Regions from separate parts of the Homo sapiens genome. Here region 2 is linked to region 1. The links are contacts of gene promoters, found by promoter capture Hi-C in blood cells and fetal thymus (Javierre and others, 2016). All regions are on one chromosome and are shown on one strand. The core of a region is centred on a gene start or on the middle of the fragment in contact, and the rest is flanking DNA. Distances in the headings are between cores, read along the strand shown.

What was found. The method cuts DNA at HindIII sites, captures the fragments that hold promoters and counts their contacts. A CHiCAGO score of 5 or more calls a contact.
Region 2: the fragment with the promoter of ZNF134 here is called in contact with the fragment with the promoter of ZNF528 in region 1 in 3 of 17 cell types (non-activated CD4 T cells, total CD4 T cells and naive CD4 T cells); the score reaches 8.5 in non-activated CD4 T cells.

Annotation. Positions count from the first base shown.
Region 1 is chr19:52,394,531-52,402,357 of GRCh38, reverse strand. It overlaps ZNF528 (zinc finger protein 528), which reads right to left and starts at 4,509. Exons shown (of 7, transcript NM_032423.3): 1 at 4,454-4,509; 2 at 3,739-3,991; 3 at 605-673; 4 at 330-411. The coding sequence starts at 344. It overlaps ZNF528-AS1 (ZNF528 antisense RNA 1), which reads left to right and starts at 4,601. Exons shown (of 7, transcript NR_125345.1): 1 at 4,601-4,896; 2 at 5,091-5,163; 3 at 5,606-5,748; 4 at 5,859-5,993; 5 at 6,608-6,760; 6 at 7,511-7,567. It also overlaps a transcript of ZNF880 not described here. RefSeq lists an enhancer at 3,998-5,197. The HindIII fragment of the contact is 5,447 bases long and covers 1-4,934 here.
Region 2 is chr19:57,610,146-57,617,972 of GRCh38, reverse strand. It overlaps ZNF134 (zinc finger protein 134), which reads right to left and starts at 3,731. Exons shown (of 3, transcript NM_003435.5): 1 at 3,470-3,731. It also overlaps a transcript of ZNF530 not described here. RefSeq lists a silencer at 3,477-3,526 and an enhancer at 3,657-3,836. The HindIII fragment of the contact is 2,580 bases long and covers 1,575-4,154 here.

The sequences.
Region 1 (7,827 bases), core at 3,260-5,759:
AGAACACTGACAGTGCATCCAGATGTGATCCCTGAACAATCCCTGCTGCCCAGCAGCACTGCCACCACGGGACCCACACCCCGTCTCCATCCATGTCTGCTGAGAGCCCTCCCCCGGACCATGCCCAGTGCAGCCTCTTCCCAAGTTCATGTCAATGGGTCACAGTGAACTGAAATCTCAAGCGGAAATGAAGGGACTGGAAGAAGCCATGGGTAAGTGCAAGCAAACGTGTCAGGCAGGATGCTTCAGAGTCAAAGATTAGCAACTCCAATGCCTGGCATTTCAGGAAGAAACAGAGACAGAACAATCCACTGAGAACATTACCTTACCTGAGTAAGGGCCATTCCTGACTTCTTTTCTTTCCTCTTCCAAGTTGCTTCCTTGCATAATATGTCTCTTTGGAAGTGAATCCTGAATGTCAAAAATATGCTGCTTAGGGCTTAGAATCAACATACCTCCTTCCTGTGCCATAGCCACACACAAAGGGAAGACCTCACCCTGAGGTAATCCTCAAACTTTGACTTTCTACATAGGTCTGATTTATCCTAACTGAGCAAGCAGATGTTAATAATTTTGGAAATCAACCATTATGTGGTTAAGGTACCTCGTCTGTTGAGTGGATTCCTTCTGAGATTTTTTTCACTTTATTCTCCCTTTCTTAAAATTTGTGAACCTAAAAAAAAAAAAAAAAAAAAGCAATTCTTCATGTGGTAATAAACTGTGATTCCTAAAATCATACTTTGATCAAGCACTTATTTTAAAAATACAAAACGCTCTCAGAAAAGGAAAGGGGGCTGTGTAGTTGCAGTAGAGGGAGCGGGAAGAACAGAGGCAGGAGATGAGGTCAGAGAGGTCCTGGGGAAGCAGATCAGGCAGGGCTGAGCTCTTCAAATATTTTCTCCTACACATCAAAAGAAATTTTGAAACAATCTATTTCCTCACTCATTTTAAGTAAATATGTCACTTATTCTGTACCTTAGAAATTAAAACACAAATAGTATCTCATATATTTTAAGCACATTCTGACAGGTTTAGTTAATCCCCAGAAAGTAGAAGGTGTCTGTCATCTGAGCTATGCAGGACTGTAGGGAGAACATGTCTGGGGGAGTTCAGGAAGCCTATTTTGGACACGTGGAGGTGGAGATGCCTGTGGATGTCCCAGCAGAGATGTCGAGAACATGACTGGACACAGGATTTTGGAATTCAGGGGAGAGGGGTGGGTGAAGAGGGAAAATGGAGACATGTTGGTGGTGTTTAAAACCATAGATGAGATCAAAAGGAAAAGCTGAGGGTGTGGGCAGACAGAACAGGTTTAAGGACTAAATTGGGTGACATTTCCATATTCAGAGAAGACACTTCAGGAGACAGCAGCAGAGGAAACTGATAAGATACGAAAGTAATGAGAAAAATTTTAAACAGATTTTTAAAAATACAAGCAATGTCTTCAAAGCTGCGAAAAAAAAGAGTGATCAGCTGTGAAACATGCTGCTGACAGAAAAAGACAGGAGGACAGAAAATTCAAAGTCAGATTTAAGCAGGGTAAAGGGCTCATGCCTCTAATCCCAGCATGCTGGGACTTCTTTGTAGGAGGATGGCTAGAAGTCAGGAGTTCAAGACCAGCCTGGGCAATGTAGTGAGACTTTGTCTCAAAAAAAAAAATTTTTTTTTCAATCAGCCACGCAGAGGGACAGGCCCATAGTCCTATCTACTCTGGAGGCTAAGACGGGAGGATTGCTGGAGTCTAGGGGTTTGAGGTTATGGTGAACTATGACTGTGCCACTGCATGCCAGCTTGGGTGACAGAGCAAGACCTTGTCTCTAAAAATTAAATGAATAAATAAATAACTAGATTTAGAAACAGAGAAGTCACTGGTGACTCAGATAAAAAAAGGAGCAGTGGAATGGTTGGTGTCAAAACCTGATTGGATGGGGTCAAGCAAGAAATGGAGGAAAGAGTGAGAGAGCGCCTAAACAAGATTTTGGTATATTGTGCTCTTACATGGAGCACAGAAAAGGCATACTTATTGCAAGTAAAAATGTAGCTAATACTTTGTTTTTTCTTCTGAGGATGAAATAGTGGAAAAAATAAAGGCGTGTGTGTGTGTGTGTGTGTGTGTGTGTGTGTGTGTGTTTTAATGGGCAACAACTCCATCTGGGTATGCTGACCAAAATAATTCCCTTGAAGTAAAATCTGATGACACTGTGGAGGAGGGATGCCGTGGCATCAGGAGAGAGTGAATGGGGCTGGCCTGTGGCACACAGTCTCAGCATCAGCAGCAGCCAGGAGCAGGGACAGACAATTCCCAGTCACTACTAAGAACACAGTCCTAGAGACAGGTGAGTGGGCCTGTTGGAAAATTCTTCCCCTTACTGTTTGAGACAGGAAAAAACCACACTGTTTTTACTACTCTCACACCCAAAGGAGAATCCCTCACCTTTAGTGATCAAAATGTGTCTGTGGTTGTTCCTACACTGACCAGTTAAACTGAGTAAAATTACAGAACACCCAGGTGCTGTCTGACGAAGAACTGCTTGTTGGTGACAAGTAATTCCCATATTACTTTGGTGACCAGAGATGAGGCATTCTGTGTTGAGCGCTCTTTATTGTGTTCACTGTGAACACAAAAACACACTGGTTTTTCCTAACTTATACACTCACACCCTAGTCCATCCCAAGAAAAGAGAAGAGTGCCTTATAAATAGTGTTCCAATTCTCATCTTCATGTGTGGTTTTTTGTTTTTTGTTTTTTGAGATGGAGTCTTGCTCTGTCACCTAACCTGGAGTGCAGTGACACGATCTCGGCTCACTGCAACCTCTGCCTCCCAGGATTAAGCGATTCTCCTGCCTCAGCCTCCAGAGTAGCTGGGATTACAGGCGCAGGCCATCAGGCCCAGCTAATTTTTGTATTTTTACTAGAGATGGGTTTCACATGTTGGCCAGGCTGGTCTCAACTCCTGACCTCAAGTGATCCGCTCACCTCAGCTTCCCAAAGTACTGGGATTACACGTGTGAGCCACAGCTCCTAGCCTCATGTGTTCTAAACAAATTTTATATTATAGAAAAATTAATATGTCACAATTCAATCATAATTTCCAATCAACTCACCACTCATCTGTAACCAGGGTCCCCCTCTTTCCTCACTACTGTTTCCCTGCCTCATTCTGTACATATCTCTCATTCTCATCTTTTTTCCTAGCTCTTTTTTTCTCTATTTTCCCCTAGGATTCTGTTCATTTTGAGTCCCTCCTCTTCTCTTTGTCCCATTCTTCCCTCTATTCCTTCTCTCCCACCTGTTCTGATCCATTTTTACAACTTGTTTCACCTCTTATTCCTCTTTCTGCCCAATCTTTCATTGTCCCTAATCTCCATATATTTCTGCCTCTTTCCTCCCACATCTCAGCTCCCCTTGGGGTCTCCCTGTTAAATTCCATCTTCGATATTACACACCCCTGTCCCCACTCTCTGGCACCCTTAGATCCCAGGCCTCCCCCTGCTGTGGTTCTCCCTGTTCTCCTTGTGACCAGCTGCCCCCTCTGGCTGTCCCAGCACCACGCTGCTCTGTCTGACCTGGCTCCAAATCCCTCCTCCTCTCCCCCCTCTGTCTGAGAAGCCTTCCCTATCTTGTTGAATTTCGTCTTTCTACAGACCCAGGTTTGTCTATATTTTTACAGTTACTTTTCTCCCCTGCTATTTTCTCGGCACCTTCTTTCACTGTGCCTCTGCAAACCCCTCACTCACCTTCTACTTTGCCTTCTGTTAATGGGTCTCTCATTCTTCATTTCTCTTTCAAAATTTCTCTATTTCCTCTGCCTCGTTCCCATCTCTTTTTCTCCACACATTCACAGGGAGGGGATTGGAATAAGATGCCCACTTCCGGAAGAGCTCATTTTCTGTGGGCTGGAAACTGGCTCGAGAGAACACTGGATGTCAGGAGACTGAAGTCACCCCCCACACTCGGGGTCAGGAGAACCGGTGGCTGGAAAAGGGAGGCCTGGGGAACAGAGGGTCCAGATTAAGGAGCAAAAAGGCAGGAGTGGGTCAGGAGAGGGGTGGAGTCTGCAGAAACCAGGTCTGGGCAGAGGACGAGGCCTCTCGTGCCCTGTTGGGGCGCTGAGCTCTAGGGGCAAAGAAGGGCGAGGCTAGGGGAACGGAGAGTGAGGATTTTACGTGGTGCGGGGCGTGTGTAGGGGTTACTAAAGGATTTGAAGCAGGTAAACCCCACGATAGGAGGTGTCTACGTGGGTAAATGACAAAAAGACCGGGCACACGACCAGCCTCCAAGCGATTTTAACACGCAGAAAGCGACTCCCAGACTCTCAAAGGATGTCTGAATTTACTCGGGGTGGAGGGAGCGGTGCCGGGATTTCAAGGTCTGCATGCCCCTCAGCTCCCGGGTATAGAAGCAGAGAAGAACTGGCTAGCCTAGACTTAACATAGACAAAGGGAAACTCACGCACTGCTGCGAAAACAGTTTCTCCCTGCAATCGGCTTCCGGGTCTACCGGAAACTGCGCTCTAGGCGTTCGCCCCCCGCGGTCCGCTTCCGGGTTTGCACGAAATTGCGCGCGCATCCTAGAGGCCGGACTGGCTGGGACCAGGGCGGGCCGGGACAAAGCCTGGGCCGGGCCTGCGCTTCCGTTCGCTTGACTGGCTGCGCTTGTTTTCAGGGTTTTGGTCTGAAAACGGATCTTACCTGCGCAGAGCAAAATCGGTTGTAGATTATATCCACGAAAATTCCTTCTATTAAAATGAATTTCAAGTCCCACCTACCCTGGAAGCAGAAAGAGAGAGAAGAGAGAGAGTAAAGAGAAAGAGAAAAGAAAGAGAAGTTGAAAAAGAGAAAGAAAACCAAGAAAGAAAGAGAAAAAAACCGAAAATAAATGGACAAGAAAGAAAAGTAAGGAGGGAAGGGAAGGGAGGAAGGGAAGGGAAGCTTTAGGAATTGAATTAACACACTTTGGAATTGTCTGTGAAGGGGATGATGCAAGCTAAAATGTGAAATGCAAAACCCTGCCAGGGTAGAATGTTCTATTTCATGCCAGTGCCCATAGAAGATAAATACTTTTCATTTATCTTCCCCATTCACTCTAGACGGTGAAGGTCAACCCTGTGCTCAATTCCAGAGACTTTCCTAGGGACATCGTGTTGGGCATGGAGGACTAAGGCCAGTGTGAAGATAAGTCACCGATTCTTTAAAAAAAAAAAGCCAGTAACTTATAAAAATAGCCATAAACGACGTAGTTTTTTGTTGTTGTTGTTGTTTTGAGACAGCGTCTCCCTCTGTCCCCCAGGCGGGAGTACAGTGGCAGGCACTCAGCTCACTGTAACCTCCGCCTCCTGGGTTCAAGTGATTCTCTTGCCCCAGCCTCCAGAGTAGCCACCACGCCCGGTCCAACTTAGTTTTTTAATACTTTTTAAAATTTTAAGACAGGGTCTCTGCCACCGAGGCTGAAATGCAGTGGCGCAATCATAGCTCACTGCAACCTTGACTTCCTGGGGTCCTGGGCAGGTGACCCCCTGTCTCAGCCTGCCGAGTAGCTGTGAGTAAAGGCCTGTGCCTCTCCACTGTGCTAATTTTCTACTGTTTGTTGCTTTGTTTTTAATAGAGATGTAGTCTGGTTTTGTTGCCCAGGCTGGTCTCCAGCTTCTAGCCTCAAGCAGTCTTCCCATCTGCTCCTACCAAAGTGCTCGGATTATAGGCATGAATCACCTTGCATGGGAGATAAGGACCCCCACATCAAGCCCTCAGGTTATTTTTGAAACACAAATACATAAGGCCCACAAGCAGGCCCATTGGCTGCAGACAGTGGGGTCACCTGAAGAACTTTTCTTTGATCTGAGTACCAACTTCTCACCTAGGTCACTGGGATCCTGGACTACGGCACTGCTCCAGGCAGGCCTGGTTATCCTGCTTGAGGCAGCAATCCTCTTGAGCCTAGTGAAATGCAACTGGCTGTACCTCAATGATGTTGCCCTGAGATTCTGCCAGTCGAGGTATTACTTCAATCTCCTGAGACCAGCCTCTACCTCCAGATCCAGGGAGGTCAGTGCACATGTAAATGGACTAGCTTTATTAAAGGGGATATCTGGGCCAGGCGTGGTGGCTCACGCCTGTAATCCCAATACTTTGGGAGGCCGAGGAGGGCAGATCACCTGAGGTCGGGAATTAGAGACCAGCCTGGTTAACATGGTGAAACGAAGTCTCTACTAAAAATACAAAAAAAAAAAAAAAAAAAATTAGCCAGGCATGGTGGCACACGCCTGTAGTCCCAGCTACTCGAGAGGCTGAGACACAAGAATTGCTTGAATCTGGGAGGTGGAGGTGCAGTAAGCCAAGATTGCGCCACTGCACTCCAGCCTGGGAGACAGAGCGAGACTCCGTCTCAAAAAATATAAAAATAAAAGGGATATCTGGATTGGCGGAGAGACTGCAGGACAGCATTCAAGTGGGGTTGAATTGGCCCAGTTGCATCTGACTTCTCACTTGTAGTTCCCAAGAATGAATATAGAATGTGCTGGAAAAGCAACATCCTGAGAGGAAGGGACCGGTGAGAAAAGGACAGGATGTGTTCCAGATCCCCAGAACAGGATCCCCTTTGTTGCTTTAGGCCAACGTGCCATGCATCCCTGGAGCATGAAACCCAGGATGGGCCGCCTTCCAGCCTCCCACAGCTGTGATGCAAGTTGAACACATACAGAGAGACTGCATCTGCACTGGGTGGTTTTCCTGAGCCTTGGGGAGCAGAATGCATGAATCCCAGGTATCTGCCGATCTGTATGTAACAAATTCACTTCATGTAACTTACTGTGTGTCCGTGAGATTATCTCTCACTCAACTCAGACACATTGGCAACCAGTGTGCAGTGAACCTGCTTCACAAGCAAGGATGTGGAGAAACTATTTTCGTACATTTTGTGGGAATCTGAAATACTGCGGTCAGTATGGAAAGCAGTATCATGGGAAACTTCCTCAACTCAAGATCACCTACCAATCCTTACAGAATCAGAATCATCATACAAACTGGTGAAAGCATAGTTTCCCCTAGAGGTTGGGATGAGGGCAAGAATGTCCCCTCTTATCACTACTATTCCACACAATATGAAAGGTTCCAGCCAGTGAAATAAAGGAAAAAGAAATAAAAGTGACAGGCTGGGTGTGGTGTCTGAGGCCTGTAATCACAGTGCTTTGGGAGGCTGAGGAAGGAGGGTGGCCTGAGGACAGGACAAAAAAAATAGTGTACCAACAGAAAATATGTTGGTTGTGCAGGCTAATACCTTTCCCAAAGGAAGGTAGCTACATCCCTATGACCTGTGTTACTGGATATATCAAAAGGGAGTTTGCAAATGTGGTCTAGATAAGGATCTTTAGATAGACATCCTGAATTATATGGTCAAAGTGATAGAATCACAAGGTTCAATATCAGAAGGGTGCAGGTGGATGCGAAGGGACAGAGACAGTGGTGATGTGTTGAAAATAGAGGGATAAAGAGATTTTTTTTCTCACCTTTAAAGATGGAGGAAGTGGACCATGAGTCAAAGGATGTAAGTGGCCTCTGGAACCTACAAAGGGTAAGGAAACAAATTCTCCCCTGGAGATTAATGAAGAATCACAGAACTATGGACCCATATTAGATATGTGACTTACAGAATTATAAAAGAATAAATTTTTCTTGTTTTAAGCCAATCACTGTGTATAGCAATAGGAAACTGATGAAATGATTTTATGTAGAAAATTCCAAAAAAATCTACAAAAATCTCTAGAACAAGAAAAATGTAAAGGTAGCAAAGTATAAGGTCAACCTACAAAAATATCGTATATTTCATCAGCC
Region 2 (7,827 bases), core at 2,482-4,981, 5.2 Mb before region 1:
AGCCTGAGGAGCACATAAAGAGCTGAATAAGCACTGGCTCTGGCCTCACTGCCACCTCACTTCTATTACTACAGTACTTCACCTCACATCCACTCTCTGCCTGGAACGCTTTGCCACCTGCCTGACCCTATTATTCCCCTTCCTCCCAGGGACATTTCCCTCCCTCTTCTAGACTCTAAGATGGCCCCTACCTCTACCCTGCTGTGTCTGCCCTTACAGTGTGCTGATGGCACTGTCACCATGACCTAAAGATTCTCTCTCTAAATTGGAAGCAAAGCTCCATCCTGATCCACATGCTGGCTGCCACCCTGTGGATAGCTCCAACCTGAATCCCTTCTCTGAACTTCAGATCTCTGTGTCCAGCTGTCTACTTGACACCTCCACTCAAGTGTCTTTGGAACATGGTAGATTCCACATAGCCAAACTGCACTCCTGATATTACCTCTGAAAGGTACTCCTACCACCAACTTTGTCACTTCAGTTGATGGCATCTTTATATCTTCTCAGACTAAAAAATCCAGGGTCTTCCTTCACCCCTTGCCTTTTCTTTCTCATCTTCCACATCAGAAAATCTGGTTGGTCCCACTTTAAGAAAAATGATTCAGAATCCATCCACATCTCCCACCTCTACAGCGACCACTCTGGTCCAACCTGAACTGTTGCATTAAGCTCCTCAGTGGTATTCCTTCCTTCATCCTCACTCCCACAGTCTTTTTTCACTGTACAGAGGAAGTTGGTTAAGACCAAAGTCAGATCACTCCCTCCTAGCTCCAAACCTGCAGTGGCTCCCAATTCTCTCAGCATACAAACCCAGATCCTCAGGCTGCCATTTCTGGGCTGAATCCTGTCCCTGCTGTCTGATCCCACCAGACATAATGGAGGCCTGAGGTTCCCTGAACACTCCTAGTTTAGCCTTAAGTTAAGTATTTGCACATGCTGGTTCCTATGCCTGAGATAATGTTCCACATTTCATCCCATTGCTTGCCAGAAATAGAAACCCTTCCACATAATTCCAAAACAGAATTTACAACACAGAGCTTTGGGTGACTGCAGGACCTCCAAGAACGGTAGGCAGAAGGGACACTGAAGAGTCCCAGAACACTATCATTCTCCACACTGAGTTGCTGAGATAATGGGGGTGTGTTGGGCTAAGTGAGGGCCTGAGACAATCTACTCTCATCTAGGTAGGAATCATAAGTTTCTGCCACCATGGCAACCTCACAAGAGGAGGGAAGCTGGGAGTGGCAGGTTCCCACAGTGGGATCTCATCGACTGAACTGTTTCCCTAAGCCCTGCCTACCCTGCCCTTTGGCAGGAATGATTTTGGGTTACCTCTCTAACTTCAGATACTCAGATCTCAGTGCTGGCTCCCACCAGCTGTGTGAACATAAAGACCAGCGTCTGAGTGTCCTCATCTTAAAAGTGGGGATAATAATGGCACCCACCTCATAGGGCTACTGTTTGTATCAGGCTTGTCTGTACATCTCAAGTGCCTTTGAAACAGCTACTACTATCCATGCAAATGAACTGATGAGTTTTTGAAAAATTAGGTTTGTTTTGCCTGCTTTAAAGCTTTTAAGAAAATTTGGTTAAGATTTTTCCATTGTAATAAAATACTTCAAGGCAACTTAATATTTTGACCAATCATTAAGTGCTAGTATAAATTTCCCTTACTTTGTACATACATTTTTTAGTTCCTTCTGCGTACTTGCAAGGTGTACACTAGCCCTTGCACTAAACCAGCCTACCTGATACATATTCCTCTGAAGGGGAGCTGCAGTGATCCTTCATTAGAGATGTTCATCAATTCTGCTTACCTGAGGGTTTGGGTAACTGAGGCACCAATGCACTGGTTGGGGATGGGACTGCTCCACAGGCAGCGCCCATGAAGGCATGCTGAGCCTGTAGGGTGGCAAACCTACTGCATCCCTCACCTTGGTCTCCAGTGCAGGCCAGGCTACTTATGCTCTACAGCCCTCTCCTCTTGCTGACACTATAAGATATAATAAAATTCCTCTTCAAAGGTTTAGCCTGTTAACTTCCTTGTTCTTTGTTCTCAAACCTTTCTTGTTCTCCATGCCTCCTTGCCCCTAGTTACTATAAACAACCTTCCTGTAAGCACTAACCAATAATTCACATCTGTTCCCTTACTCACTTTGCACCCATTGCCCCCGCCAAAACCACACGTCCTACACAACTCACATGTCCCACCACTGTAACTCACCTTCCCCTTCCCTCTTCCTTATTTGGAAAATACTCACAAATACCCAATTGGCTCAGCTTAGATTAAGCGGTCCGACCCCAGCCCATGGGGGAGTGACACAGAGGAAGGTAGGGACTATGGGTTAGAGATAAAAACCCCTTCCCTCCTTTGTTCAGTGTGCTCTTGGGATCGTGATTAACACAGGCAGCACACTTGCACAGAAGTAAATTGCCTTGCTGAGAAAACTTTTGCCTGAGTGCTGGTTTCACTTTGCAGCACCAAGCATTGACTTCCAACAACACCATCTAGAATGCTTTCACATGCCAGGACCCCTCCTTTCTGGAAGGAATCTTAAGTGTCCACCCCTTCATCCCTGGCCTTCCACCCTAAACCCACCTCTCACTTCAGAGACCACACAAAATAACTTCCTTGAAATTCCACCCTCTAAATCTGATCTACTACAGGCTTTGACCTTATGCCTCACCCATTGAAGTCTCTAGCACAACTCCCTCTCTAGAACCCCAGACCTGCATGTTCAGCTACCCGTGATGAACCTCCAGTGCAGAACACCTTAGATTCACCAAGTCCAAAACCCAATTCCTGATGCCCCTGAAACGTGCTCCCTGCTGTGACTTACCAATTTCCATTCTTTCACACGTTCAGGAAGGAAAACAGGCCAAAAAAACCCTGGATAGCCCTTTCCTCCCTACATTCACTCACGACCACATCTGATGCGGCAGGAAACCCCATTGGTTCCATCTTTAAAAATCTACCCAGAATCTCATGACTTCCCCACCCAACCCCTCCTGCCACTGCTCTGGCCCAGCCACCACCGCAACACTTCTGGAGTTTGTTGCAGGGACCTCCTCAAACGTCTCCTTGCCTCCATCCTCATCGTTTCTACCTCACTGTAGTCGGTTTCCTCCTCAGCAAACATTGGAATACTTTAAAAATCCTTTTTCGGATCCCTTCCCTCCACCATTCAAAACCCGCCATGGCTCCTATCGTCCTCGCAATGAAGGAGCAACTTCTCCCCTCGACATTGCAGGCCTGACTACGGTTCACACACGCTCCCGACTGCTACGGGCTCAGTCCAGCTCCAAACCTATGCTCAGGCTGCCCCTCTGCCAGTCACACTCGCCCCCACCCACCAGCGCCCCGCTGCCTTGGACACTGGGGCCTGCGCTGCAGGGACTCAGACAGGCGCTCCTCATTTGGAACTTCAGGATTTGGGGCGGGCGAAAGTCTGGGAAAGGCAGCACCCACCTGCGCCGGGCCCATCACCGCGGCCGCCGCCATCACAGTTCGTAGACCACCCGGAGCCGCGAGGGGGTCCCAGGTCGCGGGACCCTGGCACCGCGGTCGTCCGTCCCCGGGGGCGCAGGCGGGGTCTTCGCTGGCGAGCCACTCCGCAGAGCGAACAGCGACTTCTCCCGCACCCTCCCGCTTCCGTCACCTCGGAACCGCCCAGCAACCCCGAGCTTCTGCTCCGATGGTTCCACCTAAGAGCCGACAAGATGTCCACCGCGAGGAAGATACCGGAAGTCCCGCCCAGAGAGCTTCCGTCCGCAGGGAGACGCCCCTAAGAGTGCCGCCGCCGGGCGGCGCACAGGTTTCTGGGCAATGCAGTTCTCATGTGCACTTGGCCGTGGTGACGGCTAACTCCCCTGCACGCTGGGCAAAGGCCAAATGGTACTGCGAGGGGCGCTGAGAAATTATGCCCTGAGACTCTGAGGTCAGGGCGTGGCTTCGCTCCTTTTAAAGGACCCTCAACCAGGTCTTGTGTAGTGAGGTCTGCAGGGATCCCCGAAATATTGGGATATATTCTTACAGATGTTCCCTGAAGCCACACCACCAAATGGACACACAACATCCAATGTCACTCTGAGTCCACTCATAGTTCAGTCAAATTTCCTTCATTTAAAAAATATGTGTACTGTAGAGGGAAGCTTTGAGTCAGTTTTGTGAGCCTCAGTTGGGTCAGAGTTAACAGAGAATTGTCCCCAGGCAGGGCCATGGAGTGGAAGAATGGTCTCCAGACAGTGGCTATGGAGGGATGCTGGAGCTCCCTGAGGCAAGTGGACTAATATAGAGCTCTTCCTCTGGTTTCCTCAGAAAAAAAATACCTGAGAGAACCATGAGGAGGAAGACAGGCGAGAGAAGGTGGTCAAGGAAGGCACCTTTCCTGCCTGTATGGTCACTAATGTCCAACCAAAGGAGAAATATTCTTTTATCCAAATGAGAGTTCCTAGCCCAAAAGTTGAGATATATCTATTTCCTTTTGGTGATGTTTCTTATCTGAAAAGAAGAACCATTATAAATGCTTTTATATGCCAAGACAGGGGCTGAAAATGTGGTGTCTGAACCCAGAAATAAAGATTTGGAAAATTGGGATCAGATTTCTTGGCTGGGAGGTGATTCTCATTTCACCTGCAATTACACCGACAGTGTCTGAATTGAGAATTGAGATTTATTTATGGTTTTAAAAAAGAAAAGGGCGAGTGTATGGGGAAAGAAAGACAAAAACATTTGTGAATTGTTTAAATTACTCAAAAGTTGTTTTGTGTTTTTTTTTTTTGAGACGGAGTCTTGCTCAGTCGCCCAGGCTGGAGTGCAGTGGTGCGACCATAGCTCACTGCAGGCTCCGCCTCCCAGGTTCACACTATTCTCCTGCCTCAGCCTCCGGAGTAGCTGGGATTACAGGCGCCTGCCACCATGCCCGGCTAACTTTTTGTATTTTTAGTAGAGATGGGGTTTCACCGTGTTAGCCAGGATGGTCTCGATCTCCTGACCTCGTGATCTGCCCGCCTCAGCCTCCCAAAGTGCTGGGATTACAGGAGAGCCCCCGCGCCCGGCCAAATTACTCAAAGTTAATAATTCTGTAGTTATTCACAGATACATGACGAAATGGACCTGGAGAAACATATCTGTGATAAGTGAAAACGGTTAAGATGACAGCAAAATTTGAGCAGGAGACATTGAATTCTGAGAAGTGAGCAAATGAAGCTGAGCACACAGCTGTGTTAGAACTATGACTACAAGCAGCGTTTAGTCTCCAAAATGTAATTTTATTTATTTATTTAATTTTGGAGACAGGATCTCACTGTGTTGCACAGGCTGGAGTGTAGTGGCACGATCATAGCTTGCTGCAGCCTCAAACTCTTGGGCTCAAGGGATCCTCCCACCTCAGCCTCCCAAAAAGTTGGGATTACAGATGTGAGCCACCATGCCAGGCCTCTTTTCATTCTTGAAAACACTCAATAATACCTGGAAGGAGAAGTAAAGAAAACATTTAGAAAGTGCTATCAGAATATTAAGGTGAACAGGGATGCTGTAGTATTATGCTTATTCATAGTTCTAAGAAATATTCAAGGAACACCTACTGTATTTCAGACACTATCTTAACTGCATGGGACATTTACAAAACAAGAGACAGACCCCAATAGCTTACGCTGTACTCAAGAAAGAGGAGGAAATATGAAAAAAATGCTAAATTATATGGAATGTTAGAATGTGGCAGGCATAATGGAGAAAAGAGAAGGTGAAGGCATTGAGAAGTGCTGGAAAGATATGTAATATTACATAGCCAAGAGAGGCCAATTTGTGGATGGGTCTTTATTGGAAAAGGACATGGAGAGCTCAATGCCAGTGAAATAAAAGTTTAATGTTACTCAGAATTTCCCTAGAAATGGGAAGTACAGTATGCCATGCAGGGCCACAGGAGGAACAGGTTTCAGTCTAAAGGAAGAAGCAAGAGCTAGGGGAAAGCCTAGGCCAGATCAGAGCAAACAGCTGAGTACTGGCTAGTCTGAATAATTCTGGTTGGCTTCGATTTACAGGGGTGGTCTCTAGTTGCCTCATACCCTCACCCTGGTGTTAGAGTAGGTAGATAAGAGTAGGGCAGGAGAGAGGGACCCCAGGAATGTCAGGCAATTTTGGAGTCAAGGACAGGCAATCATAAATCTTTTCCTCTGAGATAATAAACAAAACAAGAGAGGGACCCCCGAGATGTCCAGCTCTCATTGGGTGAAGGACAGGAAAGCATAAAACTATCCCTCTGAGATGATAAGTGGCCATGATTGGTACCAGGAGGGAAAAGAGTTTTCCAACAGATAGAAAACACCTGGAGCCAGTGAACCACAACCCCTGATAAGGTTTCGAGCATGCACAAAATGGGGCAAGATGGCAAAATTTGACTGGTATTTGACCTTCCTCTGGGGGTGCATGACTTGTTAAGGGAAGATCACCCCAAATGAGTATATGTATGACTTCAGTAAACAAACTGCATGCGGCCCCTCCCAAGTACTGGCAGACCACTGTGCATGCAGTAGTCAAGCAACAGCCTACCGAAGGAAGGAGAATAAAGAGCCTGGGAAATAAGCAAATGTATAAAGTCCCAAGCCAAGGATCAAGTGGGGCACTTGACCTCTCAAGTTATCCACTTGGCCCTTTTCCAAGTGTACTTTGATTCCTTTCACTCCTACTCTAAAACATTTTAATAAACTCTCACTCCTGCTAAAAAAAACTTGCCTTGGTCTCTTCCTGTGCCTTAAGCCAACCTCTGCCTCCTCGGTTGAATTTTCTTCTGAGGAGGCAAGGACCAAAATTGCTGCAGACTGCTGCAAAATCACTGGCAGTAACGCTGGGATGATTTAGTGCAGGGAAAGTATTGGCTTGGTGAGTAAGAGTTAGATAAAGAGGGTAGTTGGCTTGCCTTGCTCTCAAGGTAGTTGTTTACTATTTTTAGAAATTAGCTACCTCTGGTAGGGTAAGTCTCTCTGTCACCAGCAAGAATTTTAAGATGTCAAGACATATAATACAAAAAACAGAAACCATGATTAATACATATGCTTCCTTAATGAGAGGGTGGTTGAAAAAAAAGGTTGAGGAATGACAGCCCTGAACAGACCATTTCACAATTATAAACATAAAAATATTCACTTAATATGTGTGTTCTTGGAAATTATAAGATGTGCACAATGAATTTGGGGGCTACTGATTCAGGCAAGGTTTTAAGCTCAGAATTTTGTCCAAAACGGTCACCTTGTTACTTTTCTGGCCTTCAGGGAATATGGCCACTCAGCAGGTCCTGAGGAACAGCTGTTCCTCCCTGTTTCCTGAGGAACAGTGTTGGGGAACATGGGACATATGCTGGAAACAAGACACCCAATCCATGCTGTTTCAAAACACTGCAGGCTGTCAAGTTGTCCAGTTTCCAATAGAAGTGGGAGGCCCAGATTTTTAAATGGAATAACTTTTTATAGGTTCATTGAGGTGTAATCAACATGCAATGTACTGCACATATTAAAACAGTAAGTATACACACACACACACACACACACACACACACACACACATATGTACACTTTTGAAATCATCACCCTATCAATGGTGTTGGACATATCTGTCACCTCCAAAGTTAACCTCAGGCCCTTACCTAAGGGGAAGTTTTATAAATAAAAGCACAAAAAAATACACACTTTATGATGTCTAAAATAAAATTCCAGAAAATTCAAGTCAATCAATTGTAAAGGAATGTTAAAAGTTGCCTGCATATTCTGGAATGTATTATAAAAGAGCAAAAGTAAAATATGCAGGTGAGATATGCTCATTCTTATGATTAC